6 separate regions of the Homo sapiens genome follow, and all the other regions are linked to region 1. The links are contacts of gene promoters, found by promoter capture Hi-C in blood cells and fetal thymus (Javierre and others, 2016). All regions are on one chromosome and are shown on one strand. Each heading gives the region's core, a stretch centred on a gene start or on the middle of the fragment in contact. The rest is flanking DNA. Distances are from core to core; before and after follow the strand shown.

What was found. The method cuts DNA at HindIII sites, captures the fragments that hold promoters and counts their contacts. A CHiCAGO score of 5 or more calls a contact.
Region 2: a contact is called between a fragment that was not itself captured here and the fragment with the promoter of IFT74 in region 1, in 2 of 17 cell types (activated CD4 T cells and non-activated CD4 T cells). The highest score is 7.1, in activated CD4 T cells.
Region 3: a contact is called between a fragment that was not itself captured here and the fragment with the promoter of IFT74 in region 1, in 5 of 17 cell types (non-activated CD4 T cells, naive CD4 T cells, total B cells and 2 more). The highest score is 18.5, in non-activated CD4 T cells.
Region 4: a fragment that was not itself captured here is called in contact with the fragment with the promoter of IFT74 in region 1 in 12 of 17 cell types (non-activated CD4 T cells, activated CD4 T cells, total CD4 T cells and 9 more); the score reaches 30.0 in non-activated CD4 T cells.
Region 5: a contact is called between a fragment that was not itself captured here and the fragment with the promoter of IFT74 in region 1, in 7 of 17 cell types (naive CD8 T cells, non-activated CD4 T cells, total CD4 T cells and 4 more). The highest score is 14.7, in naive CD8 T cells.
Region 6: a contact is called between a fragment that was not itself captured here and the fragment with the promoter of IFT74 in region 1, in 1 of 17 cell types (fetal thymus). The highest score is 6.4, in fetal thymus.

What each region holds. Positions count from the first base shown.
Region 1 is chr9:26,954,446-26,958,202 of GRCh38, reverse strand. It overlaps IFT74 (intraflagellar transport 74), which reads right to left and starts at 1,791. Exons shown (of 20, transcript NM_025103.4): 1 at 1,687-1,791. It overlaps IFT74-AS1 (IFT74 antisense RNA 1), which reads left to right and starts at 1,896. Exons shown (of 2, transcript NR_121605.1): 1 at 1,896-2,076; 2 at 2,188-2,423. RefSeq lists a silencer at 218-512 and enhancers at 1,109-1,843, 1,844-2,579. The HindIII fragment of the contact is 1,304 bases long and covers 967-2,270 here.
Region 2 is chr9:32,587,441-32,591,197 of GRCh38, reverse strand. No RefSeq gene overlaps it. Among named protein-coding and RNA genes, the nearest start is that of NDUFB6, 16 kb to the right of the region's middle. The HindIII fragment of the contact is 6,567 bases long and covers 1-3,757 here.
Region 3 is chr9:21,330,923-21,334,679 of GRCh38, reverse strand. KLHL9 (kelch like family member 9) reads left to right here. Exons shown (of 1, transcript NM_018847.4): 1 at 1-3,757. The coding sequence ends at 1,674. The region is part of intron 2 of LOC107987053 (a long non-coding RNA gene); the gene reads right to left. Among named protein-coding and RNA genes, the nearest start is that of KLHL9, 2.6 kb to the left of the region's middle. The HindIII fragment of the contact is 2,424 bases long and covers 105-2,528 here.
Region 4 is chr9:32,564,479-32,568,235 of GRCh38, reverse strand. The region is part of intron 2 of NDUFB6 (NADH:ubiquinone oxidoreductase subunit B6); the gene reads left to right. It also overlaps a transcript of SMIM27 not described here and the pseudogene DFFBP1. Among named protein-coding and RNA genes, the nearest start is that of NDUFB6, 6.8 kb to the left of the region's middle. The HindIII fragment of the contact is 3,522 bases long and covers 1-3,409 here.
Region 5 is chr9:32,377,919-32,381,675 of GRCh38, reverse strand. No RefSeq gene overlaps it. Among named protein-coding and RNA genes, the nearest start is that of ACO1, 4.8 kb to the left of the region's middle. The HindIII fragment of the contact is 6,065 bases long and covers 1-3,757 here.
Region 6 is chr9:21,791,557-21,795,313 of GRCh38, reverse strand. No RefSeq gene overlaps it. Among named protein-coding and RNA genes, the nearest start is that of MTAP, 9.2 kb to the left of the region's middle. The HindIII fragment of the contact is 8,774 bases long and covers 1-3,757 here.

The sequences.
Region 1 (3,757 bases), core at 542-3,041:
AGAGCTGAATCTTAATCATCTTTATATCCCCAAAATCTGTCTCAGTGATAAGCAAAAACTTTGTTCTCTCTTGTATCTTTTAAATTTCCTCGTACATAAAGGTATTGCCAATTACAAAAATTTACTAAATTGTTAAAAAGCAAACAAAGCGACCGGGAGCGGTGGCTCACGCCTGTAATCCCAGAACTTTGGGAGGCCGAGGCGGGTGGATCACGAGATCAGGAGATGGAGACCATCCTGGCTAACATAGTGAAACCCTATCTCTACTAAAAATACAAAAAAAAAATTATCCGGGCGTGGTGGCGGGCGTAGTCCCAGGAGGCGGAGCTTGCAGTGAGCCGAGATCGCGCCACTGCACTCCAGCCTGGGCGACTGAGCAAGACTCCGTCTCAAAAAAAAAAAAGGCAAACAAAGCGTGTGTTGGACTAAAATGATTTCTCTGTTTCTACACTCTATGTCCAGTACTACTTTTCTGACTTTTCTTAGCATTACTCGTAATCAGTCCTTGGACTGCTTCTATCCTTTCTACAGTCATGCATCTTTATAACTCCAACTATGTGTACGGCTCACTAATCAATGTCTACAGTTCTGCCCTTTCAACTGGGCACCAATTTTGAGTTTTCAATTGTTTATCTGAAATTTCCATTCAGATATCTCATTTGAATATGTTCACATCAATCTTCCTGACCCCACTAGCTCCCTGATTCTAATTCCTTGCCATTTTGAACTCTATGTACAAAGCAAAAGAATTTCAAATGGAAAAAGGAATTTCATGAAATGACTCTTTGAAAAGGAAGACGGTGTATGATCAAAATGGTTTTTCCAGAAGAAAACGAGTACAATAAACATCTCTTTCCAGTGGAAAAGATATTACTCTAGGTTTCCTGCTAACTTTGAGAAAATGTACAACATAAAAAATTTCACCCAATTTTCTTTGCCACCGTTTTACTGTGGTGAAAAAAAGCTTACCATTATATTATTACCAGTGGGATTAAGAGGCGGGCATTAGCAACAAATATACCACTAACTTCGGGGTTATTCAATCAAAGAGTCACACAATTTCCAATTATTCACACAGAGAGGCAGCCTGGCCTTTGGATCCAGAATGATTAGCGATACAAACTAGTGCTGACAAAGTTAGCGGCTGCATAATCTTGCCACCTTAATTAACCCCTCAGGATTTCATCTTCTGTAAAACAGAAGGGTGACATCTACCTTGCAGGGCTGTTGTGAAGACGATAAGTATTACATTTAAAACATCTGCTTCTAATTATTATTACTATCGTTATCCTCCCTAAGCCAACCATTCTCACACAGGTGAATAAGTGGAAAGTTGCTAACTGCCCGCACTGTGATCAACAGACAGAAATAAGTCCCTTCCACTGTAAGAGGCAGAAATGTATTGCTTTGACTAAAATCCTTCAGCCCATCGCGGTCCTTCCCTCTGCTCTGTGCTTGGCGGGTCTCCTGCGGGGGGTCGGGGAGGGGTCGGGCTGTTGGAGGAGGTCTGTTCGCAACCTTCGCTCGACTAGAATTGGTACATGCCTGGCCTGGCTACAGGCCCGACGGTAACAGTTAGCTAAGACCGAGTTTGAATTTGTTTTGTTTGGAGCGGATCAGCATCTCCAAGGCAAGAGAACAGACGTGGGAGGGAGGGAGGAAGAGATGGGACCCGGGGATTCTCACCTCCGCCGGCGCGGAAGGAGGGCAGTTGCCCGGCTCGCGGGTGCCTTAACTTCTTTCTGAGGCCCACGCTCAGTTTTCCTCGGCTCTCAGGCCTACCCACTAACTGCCGTGCGCCGCGGCGTATCCCGGCAACGGGGGCGGGATAGCGGAGGCTCCTCATCCTGAGTGACCAATCCTCCGCCTCAGCCCTTGGTTACACACGGAGCTCTCGCGAGAATTGAGGATATGTTTGTTTCTTCACCACGCTTCAGTGCTTTTTGGAAAAAGTGGAAAACAGCGGGGCGGCTGGAAGACAAACATTTTATGTGAACGTTTGGTTTTCTTGATAATCAGAGCAACCTCCGTGTGCCTTACTTGAAGTAACTCTAGCGAGTTTTGCTATGTCCCTAGGTAACCTCACGTCGGCTAACGTTGTTAACAGGTTACATTTGAAGTTAAGTGGTAGGCAGCATTGTGCAATTTTCTAAACTCCTAATTTGTGGTAGTTTTCCTTCCTATTAGGACGGCATAGCGTACACAACGCATCATGAAGTATGGATGCGATTCTGGCACCAACTGTTCCGTTCCTGCTTTCACCAGAAGCTTTGCGTCTTTAAGCTTCCTTTCATTAGAATTTGGATCCAAGTTTGTGGGGAAGACTGTGAATTCAATGGAAAGTGTCCTTTTTTTTTTTTTTTTTAATTTAAGAACTACTTCACCTTAAATCCCACTTCTCTAATAAAATAACTTTTACTGTATGTTTCCTTCCAATCTTCATTGATAACAGCTTAAATGTGATTGCATATGTATTGGGATTTTAACATTATTTTACACATTATTTCCAACTTGCCTGCCTTCGAGGAGTTAAAAATCAATACAACACAAAATGAGATAATGTTATGTGGCTGAATTCTCCCTTAGTTTGTGAAACATTTTCATGTAATTATCTCATTTGAGCTCACCCTATTTGCAGTGGCCATTTGTCATCCTTTTGGCAGAGTTTCTCCCTTACCCTGCCCCCCAACACCCTTACAGGAACTGAAAGTGACAGATACTGGCTTTCCTAGTCTTCCTTATTACTGGGACATGAGTATTATTGCTTGCTAGACTCTCCAATCTAATTTGGTGGACTCAACTCAAACTTGAATGACAACCAGAAGCAGGACTTCAGAGAGTCTGTTGAAGTAAGGGTGACAGCCGCAGTAACTACATCGTTTCCGAGACTGCAATGTTCTATCACCAGCAACCAGTGTCCAGCATCAGTGTGTTGTTGCAAGCTGCAGTGTTAGGTACTCAGAGGCTTTATTGGGAGGAGAACCTCTAGCTTGTTTCTTCAGCTTCTGGGAGAGTCTGTGAGCTGCTTAATGTCCTTTAATAAATTCATTTTCAGCTTTTATATCATTTATAGATGATTTCTGTTCCTTGCACTTAAGGACCCTGACAGATATTAACAGTTGAAATTGGCAGGACAGATACTATTATCCAAGTTTTAAAGAGATTAAATAATTTGCTTAAGCTCATTTAGGTAGTAAGTATTGATCCCTGTCCCCATTTCTTTTTCATGATGAAAAAGGAATAGAGAATAGGAATACATCTCACTTATTTGCCTCTGAGCTTCCTTAGAGTAGGCACCATATCTTATTTGACTTTGGATCATTATGTATTAGGTTCTGTTGCTTTTAAGGTTATATCAAATTGGAATTAGGTTATATCAAGTTGTAATTTGGTTAGTAATTAGGTTATGTCAAATTTTAAGTTTATTGTAAGACTACTTGTGTTTCAAGTTCCTTTCTGTCTCTAGTCCTTTTCACTGCAATTCTCTCTTCCTGGAATCTTTGTCCCTCTGCTTTTCACTGTCCAAAGTCCTGTTCATCATTCAGGTCTTAACCCAAATGTCTTTTATTAGAGAGGTCTTCTCTGCCAGTCCATACTAGATTAGTGCTCCAACTCCTTCTGGCCCCCCACCTCATTATATGTCCTCAGTGCACCCTGTACTATTCCTATCTGTTAAAAGGTAAACTTTGGCACATTAAAATTTTAAAGAGCTTATTTGAACAGACAGCAATTCATGAATTAGGCAGCTCCAAATCAT
Region 2 (3,757 bases), core at 783-3,282, 5.6 Mb before region 1:
TTGGCATTGTTTGTTGTAGTGATTTCTCAGGCTTCTTTCTCTGGCCTCAGGTAGTTTTCTCTGACTCATGCACAGATCACTACTGAGTGGAAGACTTCAGAGCTCTGCTCTCTCCCTCTGTAGCTCCCTCCACTCTGAAGGAAATTCTAGCTGCTTTGGCTTCCTAAAACTTCAGTCTCTAACTCATTGAGACTGCTGTGCTCTGTTTGGGTTTTCTCTTTCTGCACTGCAACCTAAAAACTTCTTCAAGCAGAAAAATGGGGAAATTGTAGGGCTCACTTCATTTATTTCCCTCTGGTGGGGATCATAATCCCACATTGTCCAACGTCTTAAAACCATTGCTTCATATGTTTTGTCAGATTTTCTAGTTGTTTGGGGGTAAAAAGGTAAATCCAGTCCCTGGTAGTTCATCATAGCCAGAGGTAGAATTACATACATATTAGCTCAGCCAAGTTTAATCCCACAACTCTCTGGACTCCTTATTCTACCTCCCACACACAGATAAAAGCACACACAAATGTGCAACATTTTTGGTTTAGGTTTTAGTGGATAAGGAAATATATGACTGCTGTAAATCTGGAAGAACTGGGATGGAAGGTATTTTCAACAGAATATCCGAGATAACTAGATAGCCATAGTACTGGTAGGAGACTATCTTAGCCAAAAGTAGTACTCTGATTTCTCATCTACAATTGTGGATGTGTCTTAGAACTGTTTAATAATGAGCTGGGTGTGGTGGCACATGCCTGTAAACCCAGCACTTTGGGAGGCCGAGGCGGGCCACCTGAGGTTAGGAGTTTGAGACCAGCCTGGCCAACGTGGAGAAACCCCATCTCTACTAAAAATACAAAATTAGCTGGGCGTGGTGGCGCATGCCTATAATCCCAGCTACTGGGGAGGCTGAAGCAGGAGAAGCGCTTGAACCAGGGAGGCGGAGGTTGCCGTGAGCTGACATCATGCCATTGCACTCCAGCCAGGGCAACAAGAGTGAAACTCCATCTCAAAAAAAAAAAAAAAAAAAAAAAAGAACCGTTTAATAATGTTGAGTGTAGTGTGGGGCCTCCATTTACATACAGGAACAATCCTGATGGATGGTAGGAGTGGAGGCTCTGCTGTTGGCTTCCTTTGTTTCTGGGAATAAACCAATGTTGCCACTATCAAATTTGCAGGAGGCAATGATGAGAGCAGAAGTGGTGGAAGATCCCACCATTGGTCTTTAATTTTTAATTGGATAAACTTCCTTTTAGGTTTGAGAGCAAATACCTGACACAAAGGATGCCAGTATTAATGAATGCACAGTTAGGAAAAAGAGACACTAGCATTCTCTGTTCTATCTCGTCAGCAATTCTGGAGATGTCTAATAAGGACAACTACCAGGCCCTAGTTAATAAATATGGGTTTTGTAGCTTTTTATTATAATCATCCTATTTTAGTTTCAGAAAATATTTTGATTGGGTGGTTTAGACTTATTTGGAGTTGTCAAAATCCATATAACATAGCGGAATAACCTAGGACTTTGAAATGTGTGTCTCAAAATAGAGCTAGAAAAGGGAGGGGGGACAGAATCTGTGTTGGCTTTAAAATCCACTTGGAGCAAGGGAAATTTACAGCTCCAGCTTCTTCCTGAACTCTTGCAACATCACTGCTGATTCTGCACTTTGGGGGACAGGCTGTCATTTCAGTGCAGGTTGTTCATTTTAAATGATTTGTTCAGAACGAAATACTCTGTTAAGAAAACTTTGGGCTAAATTCTTTTACCAAAACATTTCCATGTCATACTAAACGATGAAATTTGCCACATCAATAGTATTTTAGAAAAATCAACTACAGTTGATAACAAAGTGCCCTAAATACTTGAAAAGGTCTGAGAGTTGCAGTTACCAGGAAGCTGTACATCTCCAGCTTTGTAGCACTTTGAAACAGGGCCATCTAGTGGAATCTCCTAATTGTGAAACTATGAGTGCATCCTTTAAGACCTTACATTTGAGTCTTTAAAATATGCGTTTTCATGCCTCTAGACCCAAATTAACTGTCCCCAATACAATCTTTTGCTCAGAAATAAGTATCTTTCCACTCAACTTTCCGCACTGATTAATTTTGTAATATCGTGTTCTGTGGATATACATTCAATTAAGTTTCTAAAACTAAGTTGTTTTCTTTTTTCCCTTCCTATGGAAAACAGCCCTTTCTAGCTTGTCTCCTCTCACTGCCACCCCCTCAACTGTGAAGTCTCATTGAAGAATTAACAAATGTATATGTGAGACGATCCAAGATTTATACAAGACGGTATATTATATAGGATCTAGATGTTTGTTACAGATGTAACTGGACTGTGTATGACCCATCAAACACATTGTTGGCATGTATGAGATGTCAAAGGATGTTTCTGTGGACTGGTTGCATATACCCTTCCTTAGCCCTCCAAGGAAGCGTATATATAAACCTCTCCCTAGCCAAATGGAATGAAGGGTTTGTTCATCAAACTCATTTTGTTCTTTTCCCAAAAACATAGCTAAATTACATTTTCCAGCATTCCCTGCAGTTAGGTGGGGCCCTGTGACTGAGTTCTGGCAAATAGAATGTGGATGGGAGACTTGCAGTTCTAGCTCCTAAAATATCCAACATCGTCCCCCATTTTTTTTGTCTCCCCTCCCCACCCACATCTGGTGGATGTCATTGCTCAGGCAGACCATGGGACCCTTTATCATCCTGCGTCCTTGAATGTCTGAGTAGAGCCTAATCCTACACCATAATCCCCATAACCTGCAATAGACTGTGATGGGGACATGAAATACACTTTTATCATTTTAGGCCAATGAAAATTTGGAGTTATCTGTTAATTACCCTGATTAAGACAGGAGAGAAGAAACTGGGAGAAAGAAAGAAGATAATAGGAGAGAAAGGCAATGATTTTCTTCAGAGACACATGTGAGCATTTGAACTCTTTTCTGCAAGTTTTAAGAGCAAGCACATGGTTTATAAATACTGAAAACATCCAGCAGAACAGCTGTAAGTAAAACCACAACACTCTGTTTGACAGAGTTTGCTCTTGTGGAGTCAGAGGCAGGCTGTGGCTGGAAATGATGAGGCTTGAAAAGAGGTGCTTCCCACAGCTTTAGCCATGGTGAGTGCAGTGTGAGGTGTTCACCACATGGGAAGTTTGGAAACAGGGCCTTGTCAGTTTAGCCACCAGACATTTACTAATGTTATCATACATCATTTCCTGCTAATTAAACTTCTTAATGAACTCTATTCCAAGATGTCCTGCAAAGATATGGATGTGCCTGTTTCCAAATAATAGCTATTTCAGGTATATTCAAGCTATGCAGAGTGGGATGTTGAATAAATTTTTCAACTGAGCCATTTGTGAAAGCAAAACTTGGCATAGGTTTAACAGACAAAGAAGCCTTTAGATGGGCAAAAGAAGCAAAAATCACTGAGCCACGGAGGTCAAAGTTTACAGAGGCAGTAGGACTTGGGTAAGACTCTCTGCTGGCAGATAGGAAGAACTCAAGGAGACGGTAGTGAATACGGTGATATTTTTGAAGGACAGAAATGCAATTGCTCCATAATGTAGGGTTGAGGTAGGGGAAGAGGGTGAAATTAAGTGGTGTAGGCAAAATAAAGGCAGGTTACTAAGAGCCTTGAAAACTATCGGTGGGATTTTTTGTTTGTTTGTTTGCTTGTTTTGAGACAGTCTTGCTCTGTCACCCAGGCTGAAGTGCAGTGGCACAATCTAGGCTCACTGCAACCTCCT
Region 3 (3,757 bases), core at 67-2,566, 5.6 Mb after region 1:
GAAATCTTCCCTGTTCACAGAGCTATGATGGCGTCTGCTAGTGATTATTTCAAAGCCATGTTCACAGGTGGAATGAAAGAACAAGATTTGATGTGCATTAAGCTTCATGGGGTGAACAAGGTTGGTCTGAAGAAAATCATTGATTTTATTTATACTGCAAAACTTTCTCTTAATATGGACAATCTTCAGGACACACTTGAAGCTGCTAGCTTTTTACAAATATTACCCGTTTTGGATTTCTGTAAAGTATTTCTTATATCAGGAGTCTCTTTGGATAACTGTGTTGAGGTTGGACGAATTGCTAACACCTACAATCTTATAGAAGTGGATAAATATGTTAATAATTTCATCCTGAAGAACTTTCCTGCTTTATTGAGTACTGGGGAGTTTCTAAAACTCCCTTTTGAACGACTTGCATTTGTGCTTTCCAGTAATAGTCTTAAGCACTGTACCGAACTTGAACTCTTTAAGGCAGCCTGTCGCTGGCTAAGGTTGGAAGACCCTCGGATGGATTATGCTGCAAAGTTAATGAAGAATATTCGATTTCCACTGATGACACCACAGGATCTCATCAATTACGTGCAGACAGTAGATTTCATGAGAACAGACAATACCTGCGTGAATTTGCTTTTGGAAGCTAGCAATTACCAAATGATGCCATATATGCAGCCAGTGATGCAGTCAGATAGAACTGCCATTCGATCTGACTCCACTCACTTGGTTACATTAGGAGGAGTTTTGAGGCAGCAGCTGGTTGTCAGTAAAGAATTACGGATGTATGATGAAAGGGCACAAGAATGGAGATCTTTAGCCCCAATGGATGCTCCCCGTTACCAGCATGGTATTGCTGTCATTGGAAACTTTCTTTATGTAGTTGGTGGTCAGAGTAATTATGATACAAAAGGAAAAACTGCTGTTGATACAGTTTTCAGATTTGATCCTCGGTATAATAAATGGATGCAGGTTGCATCATTAAATGAAAAGCGCACATTCTTTCACTTGAGTGCCCTCAAAGGACATTTGTATGCAGTTGGTGGGCGCAGTGCAGCTGGTGAACTGGCCACAGTAGAATGTTACAACCCAAGAATGAATGAGTGGAGCTATGTTGCAAAAATGAGTGAACCCCACTATGGTCATGCTGGAACAGTATATGGAGGCTTAATGTATATTTCAGGAGGAATTACCCATGACACTTTCCAAAATGAGCTCATGTGTTTTGACCCAGATACAGATAAATGGATGCAAAAGGCTCCAATGACTACAGTCAGAGGTCTGCATTGCATGTGTACAGTTGGAGATAAGCTCTATGTCATTGGTGGCAATCACTTCAGAGGAACAAGTGATTATGATGATGTTCTAAGCTGTGAATACTATTCACCAACCCTTGACCAGTGGACCCCAATTGCCGCCATGTTAAGAGGCCAAAGTGATGTTGGAGTTGCCGTCTTTGAAAATAAAATCTATGTTGTTGGTGGATATTCTTGGAATAATCGTTGTATGGTAGAAATTGTCCAGAAATATGACCCAGAAAAAGATGAGTGGCATAAAGTTTTTGATCTTCCAGAGTCACTTGGTGGCATTCGAGCCTGTACACTCACAGTTTTTCCACCTGAAGAAAACCCTGGGTCACCTTCTAGAGAATCACCTCTTTCAGCACCTTCAGATCATTCTTAGGTCTAAGGTGTAACACCTTTGCAGTACGTCATGGGTGATCTAATACTTCCCCTTCAGTTGTATCTTCTTACAGTGATTGGTACAGTTATTAGATATAAAGGTAACTGATGTTATTCGTCTTGTATGGCTTTTAGTATGTTTATCAAGTGGCTAACAAATGCATTCTGAAAATGTATTTAACATAGCTGTTTTAACAAATGAAAAAAAGACGTAGAAAAATGTTTAGATGTCTTTTTGTGATGTTATATAAAATTGTAGATGACTGTGGTAAATGTGTAATTATGTCCATTATGCTTCAAAGTTGAGTTTTCATCTTTGACTCCAAAATGTCAGAGGGAGGCCGCTCTAAACTAAAAATAACGAAAGGTTGCCAAGTATTAATACTAGTTACCTCCCTCTTTTCGTAGTTTTTGTCATGTCTGTCAACTTACTCGATTGTGTGGTTGCATTCAGAATATTTGAAGTTTCTTACGTAGACAGAAATAATAAAAATATTAACTAGGAAAAAACAGTATAGCACCAAGCCAGTATTTGGTATCTCTCTCTAGAGCGAGCAAGAGAGGGAGAGAGGAGGAAAAAATACACATAATACAAACATACATGCATGCACACATACATACATATGTATACACACACATAATTTGAAAACTGATTGGCACTTCAACGATGCTGAAATTGTTTTTAAATTGAAGTTTCTTTCTTCCACAAAGCAGCCGTTTCTATTCAAATGGAAATTCAGTACCAGAGAATAAATGTCTATGTAGTCATACTGAATTTAGATAGATAAGGGCTACAGCATACTAAATCGACAACCAAATTTGTCATGTGACTAAACCGTTACTTCAGATGAAGCTTACATTACTGTTTTCTGCTTGTGTATTTTCTGTAGAGTACTTTTACACAGATTGGTAAAGTTCAGGTTTCAGAGAACTGCTTTTGTGCAGAAAATTTAGGTTCTTTTTTCCACCTTTTTGGTCAGTAAAACTTAATGAAAAAAGCAAAGAAAAAAATATTCTGAACAAAGCTATAGGGTTTTAAGTTCAGCCTCCCAACTTAGTCATCCTAACATGATTATTTTGTGATTTGGGGTGCTTGCCCTGGTGCTGTTCCAGTCCATGTGCATCCTGAGCTGTGTGATCTGCCTCGAGGCTATGATCTGAGCAAGCAGGAGATAACATTTTCTTCTGCATCAAGTGAGGAAAAATGTGCTTTTGGCCATGTCTCAAAGACAGGACCAACTTCAGATTCCCAAAGAAGCCAGCTACAGAGCCTCTGGAACACTATGGTCTTACAAGCAGTACTAAAATCAACCCTCAGCCTCTTCAATGCCAAAGGTATCCCTATTGGTTGAGAACCACATGGTAATTTTTAATGGGACTTTTATCAGCAAATGGAGTTACAGGAATTCTCTGTAATGAGTGATTCTGAAGAGGTACTTTCCTGGAATAATTGTCTACCTGAAGAAAAAAAATTTATATATACATTGTGTGTGTGTGTAATACACACACACAACCCCCTATACCTGGAAGATTGTCAGCATGTAAATCAGGAACAACTTTCTCCTTATTGACAATCCCATAATAAAACTCAGGAACCAAGGCAAAATGAATTGGCTTCTAGGGGTCTGAACCTTACTGCCCATACAAGTGTTGATTCATTTTAATGCTGTTTATGATTTCTGCATTGGCAGAAATTTTCATACTTTCTATGTTTTTTTAATTACTCAGTTTTTTATTACTAAAAATAGCACATTTGAGTACATTTGAAAAGTAGAAAAATTAGAAATTATTAACTTTATTGAATAAGCAAGAAGTGCATCCTAATCCTTTGATTATTAATGAGGTTGAATATTTGTGTGCTATCGGTAGCTGTGTTTCTTTGATCAGATGTTCCTGTCCTTTTGCCCTTCTGTTATCTGTTGGAGTTGCTTTGTTTTTCGTATCAAGTTATAGGATCTCTTTATATAATAAATGTAATTTAACTTGCATTTGCTTGCATTTATTTCTTCCCTCAATCTGTTGTAGTTTTACAAAGGCAACGCTGTTCAGTTAATTTTTGAGATCAAATTTGTCTTTTTTTTTTT
Region 4 (3,757 bases), core at 399-2,898, 5.6 Mb before region 1:
CAAAGTCATCCACGAGAGTTGAAATCAACTTCTTCCAAACTCTTGTTCATGTTGATACTTTGACCTCCTCCTGTTAATCACAAATCTTCTTAATGGCATATAGGATAGTAAATTCTTTCCCAGAAGATTTTCCATTTTCTTTGCCTAGATCCATCAGAGGAATCACTATCTTTTTTTTTTCTTTTTGAGACAAGGTCTTGCTGTGTCACTCAGGCTGGAGTGCGGTGGTGCCATCTCGACTCACTGCAACCTCCGCCTCCCAGGTTCAAGCAATTCTCCTGCCTCAGCCTACCAAGTAGCTTTTGATATGAAGTGAGAAACATGCAGCTCTTTCTTTTATTTGAACAGTTAGAGGTCATTGTAGTGTTATTAAATTGGCCTAATTTCAGTATTGTTGTGTCTCAGGGAATAGGACAGTCCAAGGAGAGGGAGAGAGGTGGGGAATGGCCAGTTGGTGGAACAGTCACAACACACAACATTTACTTATTAAATTCACTATCTTATATGGGTGTGATTTGTGTTGCCCCTAAAATTTGTAGTAGTAACATCAAAAATCACTGAGTGCAGATTACCATAACAAATATTAATATAACAATAGTGACAAAGTTTGAGGCCAGGCATGGTGGCTCACACCTGTAATCCCAGCACTTTGGGAGGCTGAGGTGGGCAAATCAGCTGAGGTGAGGAGTTCAAGATCAGCCTGGCCAACATGGTGAAACCCCATCTCTACTAAAATACAAAAATTAGCCGGGCTTGGTGCACGTCTGTAGTCCCAGCTACTGGGGAGGCTGAGGCAGGAGAATCCCTTGAACCTGGGAGAAGGAGGTTGCAGTGAGCCAAGATCGCACCACTGCCTGGGTGACAGAGCGAGACTCCATCTGAAAAAGTTTGAAATATTGGGAGAATTACCAAAATATGGCACAGAGACGTGAAGTGAACACATGCTGTTAGCAAAATGGCACTGAGTTTCTGGGATCGGTTCCCGGCCCATGCCAGTTTTGCAGAGCACACCTGGTGTAGAGCCCTGTGACTGGGGCCTGGACCAGCTTGAGCAGCTGGCCAGCGGGTGCCACTGCCTGCGGGGCCCAGAGGCGTTGAGTACATCTGCAGTGCTCCAGAAGCACAAGACTGTGAAGCTGCGGGCCCTGTGCAGCCCGAGGAAGTTTGGCATGGCGGGCAGGAGCTGCCGGGAGATGCTGCGCAAGGGCTACCTCTGCTTCTAGCTCCCTCGTACGAGGATGGCATGGAGCTGACCGAAGCGTCCTCGACGATGCCGAGCTGGTGCTGCTCACCTCACGCCAGGCCTGGCAGGGCTATGTGAGTGACATCGGGTGCTTCCTCAGTGCTTTTCGCCAGCCGCACGCGTGGCTCATCCAGGCCGCCCGGCAGCTACTGTGTGATGAGCAGGCCCCCACAGAGGCAGAGACTGCTGGCCGACCTCCTGTACAACGTCAGCCAGAACGTCGCAGCCGACACCCGGGCTGAGGACCCGCTGTGGTTTGAAGGCTTGGAGTCCCGATTTTGGAATAAGTCTGGCTATCTGAGATACAGCTGTGAAAGCCGGATCCGGAGTTACCTGAGAGAGGTGAGCTCCTGCTCCTCCATGGTGGGTGCAGAGGCTCAGGAGGAATTCCTGCGGGTCCTCCGCTCCATGTGCCAGAAGCTCCAGTCTGTGCAGTACGACGGCAGCTATACAACAGAGGAGCCAAGGGTGGCAGCCGTCTCTGCACACCGGAAGGCTAGTTCTCCTGCCAGGGTCCCTTCGACATGGACGGCTGCTTGTCAAGATACTCCATCAACCCCTACAGTAACAGGGAGAGCAGGCTCCTCTTCTGGACCTGGAACCTGGATCACATAGTGGAAACAAAAACGCACCATCATTCCTACACTGGTGGAAGCAGTTAAAGAACAAGATGGAAGAGAAGTGGACTGGGAATATTTTTATGGCCTGCTTTCTACCTCAGAGAACCTAAAATTAGTGTTGTCTGCCATAAGAAAACCACCCACAAAACCAGCTATGACCTGAACAGAATCTACAAACCCCAGACAAGGTTGAAGAGGAAGTGGCCTGTGTGAAAGCGCCAGTGACATATACACACCATATTCTCGTCTTTGTTCGAGGCCTGTCGTGGGCATAATTTTAACAGGTGCCTTTTTTTTTTTTTGGTCACTCCAGTAGCTCCTGGAAAAAACCTTAAAAAATATTTCCGGCAAATCTGATTTCAGTACATTTCTGAATCATTGTTTGTTTGTTTGTTTTTTGTAGGTGGAGTTTCACTTTCGTTGCCCAGGCTGGAGTGTAGTAGTGTGATCCTGGCTCACTGCAACCTCCGCCTCCCGGGTTCAAGTGATTCTCCTGCCTCAACCTCCCAAGTAGCTAGGATTACAGGTATGTGCCACCATGCCTGGCTAATTTTTGTATTTTTAGTAGAGACAGGGTTTCGCCATGTTGGTCGGCCTGGTCTCGAACTCCTGACCTCAGGTGATCCACCTGCCTCGGCCTACCAAAGTGCTGGGATTACAGGCGTGGGCCTCCGTGCCTGGCCTGAATCATTTTTTGTACCTTCTGACAGCCCAACTTCCAGAGGACAACTTTGGGGTACTCACTGGATGTCTTGTGAGTCGTCAGTAGGGATAAGAATTGTCCTGAGCTGAGGAATTCTTCTGTTCTCTGGTTTTACCAGTATTTGGTTTGCTCATGTGGTGTGGTCACCATACTAAAACGGTGTCATGGCTGAAGTTAGCCACTCTTGTTTGAGGGACAAGTTGTTTATGCATCAGCTGTCTGCTGGCTCTCCATTTCCATGGCAAATGGGCAGCTCCATCCTTCTTGACTGTTCTAAATGCCCAAAAGAGAGGTGTCATGCTTTGGGGGTAAGATGTTTGTACTCCATAAAGAACATAAAAGGACATTCACTGCTGAATTTTTTTCTTTTTTTTTTTTGAGACAGGGTCTCACTGTGTCTCCTGGCTGGAGTGCAGTGGCGCGATCTCGGCTCACTGCGACCTCTGCCTCCTGGGTTCAAGTGATTCTCCTGCCTCAGCCTACCAAGTAGCTGGGATTACAGGTGTCCGCCACCATGGCTGACTAATTTTTGTATTTTTAGCAGAGATGAGGTTTTGCCATGTTGGCCAGGCTGGTCTTGAACTCCTGACCTCAAGTGATCTGCCTGCTTTGGCCACCCAAAGTGCTGGGATTACAAGCGTGAGCCACCGCACCTGGCCTGCTGAATTGTTTATAATGGCAAAAAGTAGGAAACCTCCCAATGTCTATGAATAGGGCCATAGCTATTATGTCGAACCACATGAAACTGCCGTTTTTCTAGGCCAAAAATGGTGAGCGATCGTTAATTTCATGATTCAACTTGATACATTTACATAGTGCAAAAGGATGTTGTAGTTTCAAGCTTTTATGAAGAAAGTGTTTCTGTGTAGAAACTGGAAGCTGTTCAGTGCACTGGCAGCTGAACCCTGCTCCTGCTCCATTTATCAGAGTTACTATCATCTCAGATAATATGGAGCTCATGTCAGCAGTGCAGGTGGTGAGTGCGCAGAGACAATCTGGAAGGAAACGCTGATCTGAACAGCAGTAATCCTGGGGGACATGGGGGTGGGACTGGATTACAGAGGACTCATTTTCTAAATCATGTATTTTATGATACTTGAATTTTTTTGAAATGGGCATTTATTTAATGACATGTTATAATGTACTTTTTTTTAAAAAAGTGTAATATTTGAATTTTTACATTTGTTGTGT
Region 5 (3,757 bases), core at 835-3,334, 5.4 Mb before region 1:
CCGATTTCAGTTACTTGTATATGCTGGACTTCCTCAGTTTATTGAAAGGTCCTAGGAACTATACCCAACTAACTTTGTATCATGCTTTACAATTTATACTGCATTTTCACATACATGTCATTTAATAGGAAGGGAGAGGTGTAAGAGAAAAAGTCAAGCATAACGCTTCTCAAACCTTGGGGTACATTGAAAACATGCGTGCCTGTGTTGTGCTCTTAGGAGGCTGAGTTTGATGTGGGTGGTCAAAAGACCATGCTTTGAGAAACACCAATGGTAGTTCTCCGAATCTGGGTGTTTCTCAGATTTACCATAGGGCACTGATAAAAATATAGCCTCCTGTATCCTCTGCCTCCTAGAATGTCTGATTCATTAGGTCAGGGTGGGGGTCTGTGTTCAGATTCTGAATACGCTACATTTTTACCACAGGTGATTCTGCTGTAGCATGTCCCCAGATTGGCACCAAAGACCTGTTACCTAGAAATATACACTCCATGAGGGCAGGGGCCCATGTCAGTTTGTTCATCATCCCTAACATGGAGTCTGGTGCATAGTAGGTGCTCAATACAAGTTTGTTGACTGACTTACTGTCAGTGTCTTTCTATTGCTTACCCTTTGCTCTCTGTTGGCCTTTGCGCTGTTCAGAGTCCTCTAGAGTGGCACGGAGGGAAGACATCTGTTTGGCAATGAATGAAGTATAAAATGGTCCTCCTGAATGCTTTGAGGGGACTTTAGAATCCCTAAATTTTTCACTGAATATATGTCTTCATACTAGAGAAAATTTGAAATAAATGTTTTGTTCCTCTTAAAATCAAAGTTATATTCATAACAAGGAGAGGCAGGTCTTAGCCTCATCTTGGTTCCCGGTAAATAGCCAACTGCTCTCCCCTGATGCCCTCTTCTCACCACACCTGCTATACGCTTAATTTGCATGCTCTCTTAATTACTGCCTAAGGGCCTGATCCCTGAACTGCCTTCCCAGGGAACAAGAATCCTCTGGGCAGCTGCTTACAGTTAAGCACCATTCCTCTCAATATAGCTAATAATAAAAATCTTCACAACCGCCTGTTGATGCTGGTAACATTGTTATTGCCATAGTTTCACAGATGAGGAAACTGAGATTCAGAGTAGTTACACAGAATGCTTCAGTCATGAAACTTAAAGGGTGATCCTGGGGTTTTAGAGAAGGCTGGCCTCACTCCATAGCTTGTGCTTTTAAGCATTATGCAACAAAATCATCAGATACCCTGAAGCTGTAAATTATTTGTTCTTTGCAGAAGAGGGACTTAAATGTTCTAGAGAAAAGATTTGTTCTATCACCATATAGGCTGGAATTCCTTATTCACGTATTTCCAGGGCTTGTTCTCCCTGATGATAGCACAGAGATCCCTGCTGCAGCCATGTAATGTAGGGACACCTGGGTAAAGAGAGTCCTCATTCTGGGGGATGGAGGTGTTGGAAATCAGGGGCAGCTTGAGTATGAATTCCAGGATTGGTACATAATTCCTAGGTGTCTAGTACCATCTTTCACATGTGTTAATTTGCTGGATACTTTTTGAGTACTTTGTGTTATATATTTTTCAGAAGGGAGAGGGAAGTACTCTGCAGGATTGGTCCTTTAAATTATTTAGGTATACACAAAATAAAACATTTTTTTCAAGAAAATAATTTGGTAATGTTGACAAATGAGAGTAAAAATAAAAATTTGTCACTAATTTGACTCATTTCTAATTCCAGTTTATGATGAGATTACTTCCACATGTCAGTTTAAGTGCTTTTTAAATTTTCTTCTTGAGACAGGATTTTTCTCTGTTGCCCAGGCTGGAGTGCAGTGGCAGGATCACGGCTCAATGCAGCCTCGACCTCCTGGGCTCAAGCAATCCTCCTACCTCAGCCTCCTGAGTAGCTGGGACCAAAGGTGTGTGCCACCACACTCAGCTAATTTTAAAATTTTTTATAGAGGTGGGATCTCCTCATGTTGCCCAGGCTGGTCTCAAACTTCTGAGCTCAAGCAATCCTCCTGCCTCGACCTCCCAAAGTGCTGGGATTACAGGTGTGAACCACTGTGCCTGGCTCTAAGTGCTTTTTAAAATGGAAAATCCTCTTTCCCTCCTCCCTTGCCCCATCCTTGGTGGGAGGAAACAGCAAACATTTCGTCTGTTCCAAGTTCATCCTTCAAAGTACCATGCAGATTAACTTAACCAGATGATGGTGAGCTACTGCCCTCTGTTGATGAGTGTGTGGTAAACACATTGTCAAACAGAAAAAGCTGAGAGGATGGTTAGCATTAAGAGAAAAAACAATTGGGCGACAGAGTGAGAACTTGTCTCAAAGAGAGACGGAGAATAAGTATTAAGAAGACATAAATGGATTAAGAAAGCTACCTTTTGTTCCTTAATTTCACATTTACTGACTGTCCTAGAAGTTAGAGAGCAGAAACTTAATCAGTCCACAAACTGGCTCTGCTAAGAGCTTGGTGTGATGAGTCCAAAAATGACTATGATTAATTCTTACTCTGAGGGACCTGAGAACTTATTGTTTTATTATTTTCCCACAGCTTTACTGATATTATTTTAATGTTTGCCCACGATAGTACAGCATTCATCTTTCACATATCAAAATCTAATGTTAATTGTTATTTTTTATCTTTTTTTCCCCAGATAATTCCAGGTTCTTACAACCTTCTAACTTCATGTACCCTCCTTTTGATTTCTATGCCATTGTTATCTTGTATTTTATAGTCACACATTGTAACTCTTGAAGGCATTATTATTTCTGTTTATAGGGTCAATATTTGTTTAGATTCAAGCATACTTTTACCATTTTTGTTGACTGCTTCTTAGTAGTTCCTCTCCTCCCTTCTCCCATACTTGGTGGGAGGAAACGACAACAGACGACACAGAAAGATACATTTGTCTGTTACAAGTCCATCCTTGAAAGTACCATGCAGGCTAACTAAACCAATGATGGTGAGCTACTGCCCTCTGTTGATGAGTATGTGGCAAACACATTGCTAGCCGTAAAAAGCTGAGAGGATGGTTAGCATTAGGAGAATCAATAATTGGGTGACAGAGAGTGAGACCTTGTCTCAAGAAAAGACAGAATAAGTATTAAGAAGAAAACATTTTCTACTGGTGATAAATATTCTCAGGCTTCATTTGTTGTGAAATGTCTTTATTTTACTGTCTTTATTTTTTATTTATTTATTTTTGAGACGAGTCTCGCTCTGTTGCCCAGGCAAAAGAGTGCAATCTGGGCTAACTGCAACCTCTGCCTCTGGGTTCAAGTGATTCTCGTGCCTCAGCCTCCCGAGTAGCTGGGACCATCGGCGCCCACCACCATGCCCAACTAATTTTTGTATTTTTAGTGGAGACGGGGTTTCACCGTGTTGGCCAGGCTGTCTCGAACTCCTGACCTCAGGTGATCCACCTGCCTCGGCCTCCCAAAGTGCTAGGGCCCTCACTCTGTCACCCAGGCTGTAAGGCAGTGGCACGAACACAGTCCATTGCCACCTTGACTTCCCAGGGTCAGGCAATCCTTCCACCTCAGCCTCCTGAATAGCTGGGACTACAGGCATGCACTACCATGCCTGAATAATTTTTAATTTTTTTTATAGAGACAGGGTCTTACTATATTGTCCAGGCTGGTCTGGAACTCCTGAGCTCAAGCGATCCTCCGGCCTCAGCCTCCTAGAGTGCTGGGATTATAGGCATGAGCCACCGTGCCCAGCCTACTGTCTTTGTTGAATAACATTTTTTCT
Region 6 (3,757 bases), core at 719-3,218, 5.2 Mb after region 1:
CCTTTCCACCATGGGATGGTTTTGAATTAAATATAGAAATGTCGAAATAAAGCAAACATAGCATTTGTGCTAAATTTAAAGAAAAACTCTGTTTCTTATTTAAAACTTTATACAGTATATAAAATACATAGAATTTCAGAGGTTATCCTCATAATTCCAATTGAATATGCAATTGATTTTAAGTTTGATTTTAAGCTAAAAGGCAAAAATAATTTGACTAAGTTTCCGTATATTATCAGATTATATAAGGTACTTTGATTTGTTATATTTCCTGAGTATAAATAATTTTATTTCAAGCATTATCTGAGTTCTCGGAAACATTTTGTTTATAGGTATTGTAAATTTGTCCTGTCAGACATTTGAAATGCTTAAAAATTAAAGTCAAATTTTTGAAAAACTGTTTAAAATATTTAATCGAATATAATTAAAGTATTGAGGAAAATTATTCTGTTCAATTTAGAAATGTTAATCCAAAAATAGCTAATACAGTAATCAATAAAAAAGTAAAGGTGATATTTCTCATTATACTCAACTTGTAAACAGTATAAAAAGATTTGTAAGTTGAACAGAAATGCTTAAGGAAGACTTGTTTTTAAATTTTCTGACTTTTAATACAATTTAAAACCCAAATAGCTTTTAAATACTTCTTCACACACAGAGCTCTCACCCTTATTTTACTCCGGAATTTTTTTTTTCAAATACCCAATACAAAATTCACATGGACTATTGCCTCAAGAGCGAAACTCTGGCAAATTGGAGAGAGTGTGAACAGCCTGTGGGTGAGGAAAAGAAACAACAAACCTGTACTTCATAAAGTCTGGATGAAAAGGGAGGAGATACTGGGAGATGAACAGCAGAGGATAGGTAGTCAATGGGGTATTTTTTTTTTCTTTTACTAAGGAGAGAGTTTTGAGCGTGTTTGTAAGCAAGTGAAAAGAAGTTCACAAAGAAGAAAAAATGGAAGACACTAAGAGAGGTATGGCTAATGGCCCAAGATCCCAGAGGAATGGGATCAGAAGCTCTGACAGAAATCATAGTCCTCTATTAGAATGGAGACATGGGGCTGGAAGAAAGGAGGTAAGAATGGGGCCTCTAGATAGTTTAAGAGTAGGTGCTGTGAACCTAAGAAAGACGACTCTTGATGGTATAATTTTCTTAACAAAGTAAGAGATAAGGGTTGCATAATGAGTTTGAGAAAAGATGACAAAGATTTGACCATGTCAGATTAGGGACCATGAATTAGAAATGGTACCAATCTGCAAGGGCGTGTAATTTTTTCTGACAGCCCTTCACCCTTGTCTGATCAGATAGGACCTCAAGGAATTGAGGATGTTGGGGAAGTATAAGTTTATCTTATCAATCAAAGAAATCCAGCCCTGTGGGGAACAATGAAGCCATGAAGGACCTGGATGATGGGGGAAGGTGGAGGATCAAGGGGGTGGAGGATCAAGGGACTGGAGGACTTAAAGGAGTCTAAGAGCCATGAGGGTAGGGTGAGGGAATGTGAAAGAGGGAAGGAGAGGAGGTCCTGGAGGGAGATATCGGAGCTCAAGGTTTTAGAAGAGTAATAAGTTCTAAAGGTTATGGAAAGATCCAAGAAGTGAGCAAGTGAATTAGTCAGATGGGGGAAAGGGGGAAGGTGGTTTGTTTTTTTTTAAATCTCCATGTGTGTATTGTCTACATTCATATTACATCTCCTAGAACTGTGGCAGATAGGACTTGGGGTAAGACGAAGACCATGATACAAGGTCCAGCTGTTGGAGGGGCTGGTAAATCAAAGCCACAGGGATGATCAGAGGATGGTAGAGCCAGATGGAAGAGACCACCTTCTAATAGCATTAGTTTTTCTAGAGGCCATGGAAGCAAACCAACCTGGAGTTGGCAATGAGAAACCAGGAGATTGCTACCCTTCATCACAGTCCCCTAGTATGTAGGGAATGGAAAAATAACAACCTCCTTAAGAGAAAGCTGTAGAGTGAAAGGATAGGCAGATTTCAGTAAAGGAAAATAGATGGAAACGGTGACTTAAAATGAGGGTGAAGTATAAAGAGGCTTACTAATTACTAAACTAGCACTTCATAAGAATGCAGTGGGAAATGTATTTGTAAAGTACTGAGGGAAAGTGGAAGAGGAGTATTTTTTGCTTGCTATATCTTTCTTAATTTTATTGTTAATTGACAATAATTGTATATATTCAGGAGACATATGTATATATATATATATCCTGAATTGTATATATTCAGGAGATGTTATATATGAACATATATGCACATTATAGAATAATTAAATCAAACTGACATATTTTCTATCTCAGATACTTAGCATTTCTTTATGTAAGAACGTTTAAAATATACTCTTTTAGCAATTTTGAAATATATAAAACATTATTCTTAATTATAGTCACCATGCTGTGCAATAGATCACAGACTTATTCCTTCTGTCTAACTGAAACTTTGTGCCCTTTGATCAACATCTTCCCTTTCCCCATTCAAATAATCACTACCTCCAAATCTCCAGCTTCTGGTAGGCACCGTTCTACTCTCTACATCTATGAGTTTGACTTTTTTAGATTCCATATATAAGTAAGATCATGCAGTACAGTATTTGTGTTTCTCTGCCTGGCCTATTCTACTTAGCATAATTTTCTCCCGGTTCATCCTCATTGTCACAAAGGGCAGAATTTCCTTCTTTTCCTAAAGGTTGAATAATATTCAATTGTGTATCATCTTTATCCATTCATTCATAATGGACACTTAGGTTGATTTCACGTCTTGGCTATTGTGAACAATGCTTCAATAAACATGAAAGTGCACATATCTCCTTGACATACTCATTTCATTTTCTTTGGATGTATGTCCAGAAGTGGAATTGCTGGATCATATGGTAATTGTATTTTTGTTTGTTTAAGGAAACTTTGTACTGTTTTCTGAAGTGATTATACTAATTTACCTTCCTACCACTGTGCACAAGGGTTCCCTTTTCTCCGCATCCCCCTCCAACACTTGTTCTCTTTCATCTTTTTGATAATAGCCGTTCTAATAGAAATGACTTGATATCTCATTGTGATTTTAATTTGCATTTCCCTGATGATTGATGATGTTGAATAGTTTTTCATGTATCTGTTGGCCATTTATCTTCTTTTGAGAAATGTCTACTTTGGTCCTTTGCCCATTTTTTAAATCAGGTTGTTTTCTTGCTACTGAATTGTTTTAGTTCCTTATATATTTTGGATATTAGGCCCTTATCAGAAGACAGATTTGCAAATATTTTATCCGAATTCTTGGGTTGTTCCTTTACTCTATTATTTCCTTTGCTGTCCAGAAGATTTTTCTGTTTGATACAGTCTCATTTGTCTATTTTTTCTTTTATTTCCTATGCTTTTTATGTTGTATCCAAGAAACCACTGTTCAGACCAGTATCACAGGGCATTTCCTCTACGTTTTCTTTTAGAAATTTTACAGTTTTGGGCTTTACATTTAAATCTGAAATCTATTTTGAGTTTATTTTTGTATATGGAGTGAGATGAGGGTCTAATTTCATTCTTCTGTGGGTGGATATCCAGTTTTTCCAACGCTGCTTATTGAAGAGACTGTCATTATACCCACTGTGTGTTCTTGAAATCTTTGTCAAAACTACATTGACCACAAATAGGAGTTTATTTCTGAAATTTCTGTTGGGTTCCACTGTTCTATATGTCTGCTTTTATGCCAGTACCATGCTAGGATTTTTAAATTCTTGTTTTTCCTTTTATTTTTAG